Linked DNA regions of Homo sapiens: all the other regions are linked to region 2. The links are contacts of gene promoters, found by promoter capture Hi-C in blood cells and fetal thymus (Javierre and others, 2016). All regions are on one chromosome and are shown on one strand. Each heading gives the region's core, a stretch centred on a gene start or on the middle of the fragment in contact. The rest is flanking DNA. Distances are from core to core; before and after follow the strand shown.

Region 1 (3,289 bases), core at 685-3,184, 2.2 Mb after region 2:
AATATATTTGGCAGTAACAGCAAAAGAATGCAGGTGGAAAGAAAGCTATATTGGATTAAGGAAATGACTCCAGATGGTAACTCAAATCTACAAGAACAAATGAAGAGAGCCAGAAATAGTAATTAAGAAAGTTAATATAACAAACTCTTGCTCTTCCTTCTTTTCTGAGCTTCTTCAAAAGGTATAAAATTACATAAAACAATAATTATACCAATGTATTTTTGTGTTTGTAACATATACAGATGAAATATGTGTAACAATTACAGCATAAAAAGGGGAAAATGGTATAGAATTGACAACATTTCTGTATCTCAGTGAAATAAAATAAGTCTACATCTGAAACACTGATACATTAAGTAAGCCCTATAACAACCACTAAGGAAATCATAACAAAAATAGAGAAAAATCATTAAAGAAATAAAAAATGCTATACTAGAAAATATTCATTTGATACAAAGGAAAGCAGTAAAAAAGGAATTTAAAAAAAAACAAAACAACTTGAGACATATAGAAGACAAAATATAAAATGGCAGATAGGAATGCAACCGTATCAGTAACATTAAATGTGAATGGACTGAATAATCCAATCAAAAGGCATATATTGACAGCATGGATACAAAAAAGAAAAACCAACTATATGCTATCTACAAGAGGTATTTTAGATTCAAAGAAAGAAATGGGTTGAAAGTAAAAGGATGGAAAAACATACGTATGTAAATATCAATGAGAAAGCCGGAGTATTTATACTAATACCAGACAAAAGATTTTTAAATTTAAAAAATTATTAGCAATTAAAATGGGCATTTTAAAAGGATAAAATCATCAACTCATAAGGATAATAAAACTAGGCAGATCAACAAAGAACCCTAAGATTAAAACAATAGCCAGCTGGGCGCAGTGGCTCACACCTGTAATCCCAGCACTTTAGGAGGTCGAGGTGGGTGGATTACAAGGTCAGGAGATCGAGACCATCCTGGCTAACATGGTGAAACCCCATCTCTACTAAAAATACAAAAAATTAGCCAGGCGTGGTGGTGGGCGCCTGTAGTCCCAGCTACTCAGGAGGCTGAGGCAGGAGAACGGGGTGAACCCGGGAGGCGGAGCTTACAGTGAGCTGAGATTGCGCCGCTGCACTCCAGCATGGGAGACAGAGCACTCCAGCCTGGGAGACAGAGTGAGACTCCATCTCAAAAATGAATAAATAAATAAAAATAAAATAAAAAAGAAGATCTCAAATCAGTAATCTAAGCTTCTACGTTAAGACACTGGAAAAAAGAAGAGTAAACTAAACTATTGGCAAGCACAGGAAGGAAATAATAAATATTAAAGCAGAAATTACTGGAATAGAGAATAAAAATAGAGAAAATTAATGAAACTAAAAGTTGACAATCCTTTAGTTAGGGTGACCAAACAAAAAAGAAAGAATCAAATTAGTAAAGTCAGGAATCAAAGATGGGCATTATTATTGACTTTACAGAAGTCAAAAGGATTGTAAGGGAACAGTGTAAACAATTTTACATCAACCAATTAAGTAACTTAGATGAAACTGACAAATCCCTAGAATGATACCAACTACTGAAACTAACTCAAGGAGAAAAAACAACCTGAATAGACTATAAACACAGAGGCAATATTAGTAATAATAGTTTTTAAAACCACCCATAAAGAAAAACAACACAGATAACTTCATTAGTGAATTCCACCGAAAATTTAAAGAATCAAACACCAAATTTTCACAAACTCTTCTATAGAGAGAAAAGAGGGAGAAGCACTTCCTAATTCATTCTATAGGCAGTATTGCCCACAGACCAAAAATCAGACACAGACATCACCAGAATACTAAAGATCAATATCACTTACGAATACAGATGCAAAAATCCTCAACAAAATACTAGCAAACTAAATCTAGCATTATGTAGAAAGGATTATACACCATGACCAAGTGGAATTCACTCCAGGAATGCAAGGTTCATTTAACACCTGAAAAATCAATCAATATGGTATTCTCGTTAGTAGAATAAGGGACCAAAAAAAAAAAACAAAAAACAAAAACATGATCATCTCAATAGAAGCAGGAAAAGCATTTGACAAAATTCAATACCCTTTCATGATAAAAACATTCAACAAACTAAGAACAAAAAGGAATTTCCTCAACCTGACAAGAAGCATCTAAAAAAACCTCACAGCTAGTATCATTTTTAGTGATAAAGGACTGAAAATTTTCCCATTAAGATCAGGAACAAGACAGAGATGTTTGCTGTCACTATATCTATTCAACATTGTACTGCAGGTTATAGACAGAGAAATTGGGCCAAAAAGAAAAAAGAGAGAGAGAGAGAGAAAGAAAAAGAAACAATAGGCATCCAGAAGGAAAAGGGAGAAATAAAACTATCTCTATTTACAGATGACATGATCTTGTATACACAAAATCCTAAGAAATCCACTAGAAATTTATTGGAACTAATAAATGACCTCAGCTAGACTGACAGATACCAAAAAAAAAAATCAATTCTATGTCTACACACTTGGCAAAGAAGAATCTGAATTTAGAAAAATATTTCCATTACAATAGCATCAAAAAGAATAAAATATGTAGGAATAAATTTAATCAAGAATGTACAAAGCTTATACTATGAAAACAACAGGCCAGGTGTAGTGGCTCACGCTGTAATCTCAGCACTTCAAGAGGCTGAAGTGGGAGGGTGGCTTGAGGCCAGGAGTTTGAGACCAGCTTGGGCGACACAGTGAGACCCTAGTCTCTATGAAAAATTTCAAAAAATTAGCCGGATGTGGTGGCACACACACACACACCTGTAGTCCTAGCTACTCTGGAGGCTGACGTTGGGGGATCGCCTGAGCCCAGAAGTTCAAGGCTGCAGTGAGCTATCATTGTGCCACTGTGCTCCAGCCTAAAAAACAGAGCAAGATCCTATCTCAAAAAAAGAAAGAAGGAAAACTACAAAACATTACTCAAAGAAATTAAAGGCGAACTCATGTTTACTGATTGGAAGGCAGCATCATGAAGATGGCAGTACTCCCCAAAGGGATGTATAGATTCAATGCAATCCCTATCACAATCCCAGGTGGCTTCTTTGCAGAATTGATAGAGTGATCCTAAAATTCATATGAAAATTCAAGGGATGCAAAATAGCCAATATTGAAAAAAAAGAACAAGGTTGGAGGACTCACACTTCCTGCTTTCAAAACATACTACACAAACCTAAGGTCATCAAGACAATGTAGCAGTAGTATAAGGACACAGATCAACAGAACAGAATTGATTGTCCAG
Region 2 (3,168 bases), core at 369-2,868:
TAATTAAGAAATAACTGGCTGGGCGCGGTGGCTCACGCCTGTAATCCCAGCACTTTGGGAGGCCGAGCCAGGAGGATCACCAGGTCAGTAGATTGAGACCATCCTGGCTAACACGGTGAAACCCTGTCTCTACTAAAAATACAATAAATTTCCAGCTACTCGGGAGGCTGAGGCAGGAGAATGGCGTGAACCCGGGAGGCGGAGCTTGCAGTGAGCCGAGATGGCGCCACTGCACTCCAGCCTGGGCGACAGAGCAAGACTCCGTGTCAAAACAAACAAACAACACACAAAAAAACTATATACTCAGTCCAGCAGCCCAAGCCACTGCTCTGCCTATGGAGTAGCCATTCTTTTGTTTCTTTACTTCTTTAATAAACTTGCTTTCACTTCACTATATGGACTCATGATTGGCAACGCTTTCTGGTAACACTGCCCAGGTTTCCTTTGTCAAGCGTGCCTTTCTCAGCCCTACATACCCACAGTTAAATAATCCCTTCTCTCCTGTTTATTTTTCAACTATTGAAAATAGCAAACATCTTAAAACAATTTGTCTTCATGTTTTTCCTCTTAAAAAATTGCAAACGTCTTCTGGGCAGGATTTATGTATTGTTTATCTTATTTATTCTCTTCCTATTGCATCTGGAACACAGTCTGTTTTCAATACCGTTTGTTGAACTCCAGGGTAGATTACAGGGCTGTGTATTATAATCTACAGTACTTTAACTGAAGTTACTCGTTTATTGGTGACTACATTGCTGTCAAAAATACACTCATGTGGCTGGGTGTGGTGGCTCATGCCTGTAATCCCAACACTTTGGGAGGCTGAGGCGGGCGGATCAGGAGGTCAAGAGATCAAGACCATCCTGGCCAACACGGTGAAACCTGGTCTCTACTAAAAATACAAAAATTAGCTGGGCGTGGTGGCGCATGCCTGTAGTCCCAGCTACTTGGGAGGCTGAGGCAGGAGAATCGCTTGAACCTGGGAGGCGGAGGTTGCAGTGAGCCGAGATCGCATCACTGCACTCCAGCCTGGTGACAGCGCCAGACTCCGTCTCAAAAAAAACCCCCCAAAAACAGAAAAACAAAAACAAAAAACCGCAGATGTTATAGAATATAAAATTATAAATGACAAAAAGCTTGAAATAAAACGAGCAGAGCATATAAAAGTTAATGAAGCTGAAGAAAACGTGAGCTTCTCCGTACACTTAACAAGGCTGCGATTTTTACCAACTTTTTTGCACTGTTGTAGCCCCAATAATGTATCTAAAATGGTACTTGACACAGTTTATATCCTTAAGAATGTATGCATGCACGCACGCGTGAAGAATGAATGAATGAGGGGTCGTCCCTTTGCACACACGGAGGTCTACGGGCCGCAGAGTACCTACAGCATGGCCACCGCAAGCGCAACTAAAATCCAGGGCTTGTCGCAGGCACAGGCTCCTCCTTCGGTGGGTGGGACGGCGGCGCGCACTTTCTCTACGCCCCACTGCTAGGATGTGCGGCCACCACTCCTCCTCCGCCGCCGCCGCCGCCGCCGCCGCCGCCGCCGCGTCGAGTGCAAGGGCTTCTGGGAGCCGAGCCTCGGGGTCTCGGAGAAGGGGCGCAGGTGGCCGCCATCTTGGATTGCGAACTGGGTCGCTACGCTTCACGCCAGGGGCGGAGTGGCGGCCCTTCTGTTACCCGCCACACACGTCGCCGCTGGGGACTGGGAAATCAGGGCATCGGAGAGTGCCACATTAATGGGTAAGTTGGAGTGAACACGGGCTAGGTTGGGGGAGCCTCGGTTTTGGTCCCTTTGGGAACTACTAGTTCCTGGGGCCACGGTTTTTATTTACCCCTTACTTTGCGAAGGTCTCTGGAACCTGGCGGTGCCGGGTGTTTCTCGTGTTTTCCCCAGGGCGACAGCGGTCGCGGGGGCGTGGCAGCCGGACCTTTCCCTTGCGGACGCGAAGGCGTGGTGAGTTCAGATTCTTTCAGCAGGTCCTCTGGAGTGATGGGCAGCTGGTCTCATCTTCGCCGCCCCGCCTCACCGTTTCTCGGTAGTTCTTTTCAGTTAATGGAATTGCCAAACGTTGCCACTCATACCTGGTACCCATCAGCTGTGTCCAGCAGCTTATGGAAATTCCACAGTGTCCAAAGAAGAGACAGGTTCCATCCCGAGGGCCTCCTAGCCTCGCCCTCTCCATCCGCCAGCCTCCCTCCTCCACCTGCGTGCAGGTGCCTCTAGTGCTCATTCCCGACGACAAGGCAAGCCTGGGTTCCACGCTTCTAATAGTCGGGCAGCTCCGTTCTAAGATGAAAACTTAGGTTTTCATCGATAATACATAGGAGATGGAAGTATTTGAAAGCTGTGAAATGACAGTGATATGTCTAAAGAATATGACATTGGCGGCGGGCGCGGTGGCTCACGCCTGTAATCCCAGCACTTTGGGAGGCGGAGGCGGGCGGATCACGAGGTCAGGAGATCGAGACCATCCTGGCTAACACGGTGAAACCTCGTCTCTACCAAAAATACAAAAAATACAAAATAAAATACAAAATAATAAATACAAAAAAAATACCAAAAATACAAAAAAAGGAAAAATTAGCCTGGCATGGTGGTGGGCGCCTGTAGTCCCAGCGACTCGGGAGGCTGAAGCAGGAGAACGGTGTGAACCCGGGCGGCGGAGCTTGCAGTGAGCCGAGAGCGCCATTGCACTCCAGCCCGGGCGACAGAGCGAGACTCTGTCTCAAAAAACAAACAAAAGAATATGACACTGGCATTTACTTTTGAGCTTTTTAGACATGTTTTTTAAAAAAGACAAAAACACTAATGATTTATCTCTCAATTACAACACCCAATAATGATGACTCATATTCTGTACAAAAGTGGTTTTCTTGGTAGGTCAGGAGCAACTCTCTCCCTCCGACCTAAGTACTGCTTGTTTGGTTGTGAGGGCTCTCTAGTTGGCACTTCCCCCGCTTTGTGCAGTCTTTTACTTTCACTAATGAGGCGCCCAGCCCCATGGAAATGAAGGCTTTACTGGCATAAGAAATAATGTCGATTGATATTAAAGAAAATCATAAGTTCAGATTCCAGTTATTTGCCCAACTTAAACATGGTTTTTCTAAGAGCCGTTGAAAGCTTATGAATGAAAAAAATTCCTCTATTCTGTAACTTTAAAG
Region 3 (3,006 bases), core at 296-2,795, 2.2 Mb after region 2:
ATACACTCGATGTAAGCTCCAAAAAAGATTAAAAGATGAATTTTTCAGGATGTGAGCGAAGGACCTTTCAGGCCAAGGGAACAGTATGTTAGAAGCACAGGGGGTGAAGTATTTCTTTTTTAAATTTGTTTTTGTAGAGATGGGGTTTCGCCATGTGGCCCAGGATAATCTCAAATTCCTGGGCTCAAGTGATCCACCCACCTTAGCCTCCCAAAGTGCTAGGATTACAGGCGTGAGCCACCGTGCTCAGAGCGTGAAAAGATTATCACCACGTTTTAAAGAACCTGTGTGATTCATATCTCTAGAACAATGGTGGAGTTAAAGGAGGTATGAATGGAGATATTGGCTGGAGACAAACTGAGAAGGGCCTTGTCAATGAAGTTAAAGAACTGAGATTTTATCCCTTAGAAAAGGGAATACTCTTCTGAGGGTTTTAATAATCTGAGGTTTTAAAACCAAAGAGAAAGAACATATCTGTGTTAATGCTGGTAGCAGTGCAAATGATAGGCTAGAGCTGGGGAGATCAGTTAGAAAATTCTAAGCAATATTCCAGATAGGAGATGACATGAATTCAGCCTCCAGAAATGAAAAAAATGTTGAGACTGACTAGATGTAGGAGATAAGGGAGTGAAGCTGACTGAGGTTTTTAGCCTAGGACACTAGGTAGCGATTTTATGCCTTTTTGTATCATCTACCTGTGTTAGGCATACAGTAAACAACAGTCTTCAATTTTCACAAGCTAAGGCATTGGCTAAAGTGCTCATCTAGGCCCAGGAATATTCCTTGGTGCCCTGGCAACAGGTAAGCTAATTTGCTGGGACTTGATCCATTTACCACCCAGAATGGCTGCCTCAGATGCCTCAGCCATCACTGCCTGTGTTCCCCAGTCTGGCTCCTTCCATCCGGTCGTCTCATTACTACCTGCACCCTACCACGGATGGGGCCCTGCCCTTCGCTCATGCTCTTAGTCTAGTCTAACTCAGTTTACTTTCTGCATTCCTCAAGGTTCACCTTACAATAGCTTGATTTAAAACAAGGTCTTTGACATCTGCCTAAAGCAATCCTTACCTTCACTGGTTTCCACATTATGTGTGGTTTAAAGAGCATACTATATTGTAGAGTCTAGCAAAGTAACTATTCATAATAGAGGATTATTAATATTTTTTGAAAATCTGCTATGTAGCTATTTCCATCTCATTTTCAGTTTTGTTTTGTTTTGTTTGAGACGGAGTCTCACTCTGTCGCCAGGCTGGAGTGCAGTAGTGCGATCTCAGCTCACTGCAACTTCCACCTCCTCGGTTCAAGTGATTCTCCTGCCTCAGCCTCCCAAGTAGCTGGGACTACAGGCACCCGCCACCATGCCCAGCTAATTTTTGTGTTTTTAATAGAGATGGGGTTTCATCATGTTGGCCAGGATGGTCTCAATCTCTTGACCTCATGATCCACCCACCTTGGCCTCCCAAAGTGCTGGGATTACAAGTGTAAGCAACCACACCCAACCTCATTTTCAGTTTTATACTAATTTACTATTAGAATACCTGTGGGGGTGGTTGAGTGGGTATGAGAATATAAGTATCCTGGGTTGAAGAGGGAAACTGGTATAATAAACATTTGTGGCCAACAGTCTATGAGGAGATCATTTAATACTTACTAATTTAGGTCTGAAAATTATGACTGAAAAGGTTAAAATCAATTGCTGACTATAAAGGTTTTATAATGAATAGTGTATAATCCTTTCATGAACCACCATGCAGTGTAGCCAGAATTTCTTCCTTTTACAAGTGTAGTCATGCTTTCAAGTATCAAGGGTCCTTACATATATTGTGGCAAAACATGAACTGTCTTTTCCAGCTTATTATAAGTCAGTCAGAAATGAGCATTTTCCTTCCCAGTATGATTTCCAAGTTTTTCTTGTTGCATCCTCAACTGATGGTTCTAGGTAACTGAAACTCCAGTCTTGCCTGCCACTAACAGCCTTTTGTGTGTGTGTGTTTCTTTTCTTTTTAATTTATTCTAGGCTGATGCACCTAATCCAGGACTCATTCCAGATGCAGATGCAGTAGGCGTAACTGTTGTGCTAATTACTTGTACCTATCGAGGACAAGAATTTATTAGAGTTGGCTATTATGTAAATAATGAATATACTGAGACAGAATTAAGGGAAAATCCACCAGTAAAACCAGACTTTTCTAAGGTAATGTTCTTACTATTCCTTTTTAACTACTTTTACTATGCAATTTTTAAAGCAGTTGCTATTGCAATTTCATAGTATACTATTAAAATGGCTTTGAGATAAAATAAATATGAGGTCCTTATGCCAACTGGGCAAACTAATTATTGTTCCATTACCATGGATGACTTCAAACCCTACCTTCAGATGAGTCATTAGTAATTAATGTAGGCAGACACCTTGAGCATTTCTGGTTTAGAAAAATGAAAGTACCTCTTTTTTTTCTGAGATGGTTTCCTGCTCTGTTGCTCAGGCTGGAGCGCAGTGGCATGATCTCGGCTCACTGCAACCTCTGCCTCCTAGGTTCAAGCGATTCTCCTGTCTCAGCCTCCCAAGTAGCTGGGACTACAGGTGTATACCAACACGCCCAGATAATTTTTGTATTTTTAGTAGAGGTGGAGTTTCACCATGTTGGCCAGGGTAGTCTCCAACTCCTGACCTCAAGTGATCTGCCTACCTTGACCTCCCAAAGTGCTGGGATTACAGGTGTGAGCCACCACGCCCAGAGAAAGTACTTCTTGTAAGACAGGCCTTTGTTTATGGCTTTCTTTATAGCATTTCCCATATTGATTATTCCCATCATGATTCTGTTCATTTCAACCTTTAGGACAAACAAATGCATTTTTGTTGTACTAATTATTCAATGATGATATTTTTGTGTGTAACTCTTCCCAAAATTATGAAAGTTTTATGTTTGTTTTTCCTATGAATACGGTTATCTCAAAACACCTATACGCTTTATCTGCTATTCTTAGAAGTTAAACTAACAGTCTTAA

The links. The method cuts DNA at HindIII sites, captures the fragments that hold promoters and counts their contacts. A CHiCAGO score of 5 or more calls a contact.
Region 1: a fragment that was not itself captured here is called in contact with the fragment with the promoter of KPNA5 in region 2 in 3 of 17 cell types (naive B cells, non-activated CD4 T cells and total CD4 T cells); the score reaches 5.7 in naive B cells.
Region 3: a contact is called between a fragment that was not itself captured here and the fragment with the promoter of KPNA5 in region 2, in 3 of 17 cell types (M1 macrophages, M2 macrophages and total CD4 T cells). The highest score is 9.0, in M1 macrophages.

What each region holds. Positions count from the first base shown.
Region 1 is chr6:118,884,029-118,887,317 of GRCh38, forward strand. All of the region lies in intron 8 of MCM9 (minichromosome maintenance 9 homologous recombination repair factor), which reads right to left. Among named protein-coding and RNA genes, the nearest start is that of ASF1A, 8.5 kb to the right of the region's middle. The HindIII fragment of the contact is 1,375 bases long and covers 1,248-2,622 here.
Region 2 is chr6:116,679,593-116,682,760 of GRCh38, forward strand. It overlaps KPNA5 (karyopherin subunit alpha 5), which reads left to right and starts at 1,619. Exons shown (of 14, transcript NM_001366306.2): 1 at 1,619-1,746. The coding sequence starts at 1,743. RefSeq lists enhancers at 1,216-2,199, 2,200-3,168. The HindIII fragment of the contact is 1,991 bases long and covers 1,135-3,125 here.
Region 3 is chr6:118,903,635-118,906,640 of GRCh38, forward strand. All of the region lies in intron 8 of MCM9 (minichromosome maintenance 9 homologous recombination repair factor), which reads right to left. ASF1A (anti-silencing function 1A histone chaperone) reads left to right here. Exons shown (of 4, transcript NM_014034.3): 3 at 2,018-2,194. Among named protein-coding and RNA genes, the nearest start is that of ASF1A, 11 kb to the left of the region's middle. The HindIII fragment of the contact is 4,304 bases long and covers 1-3,006 here.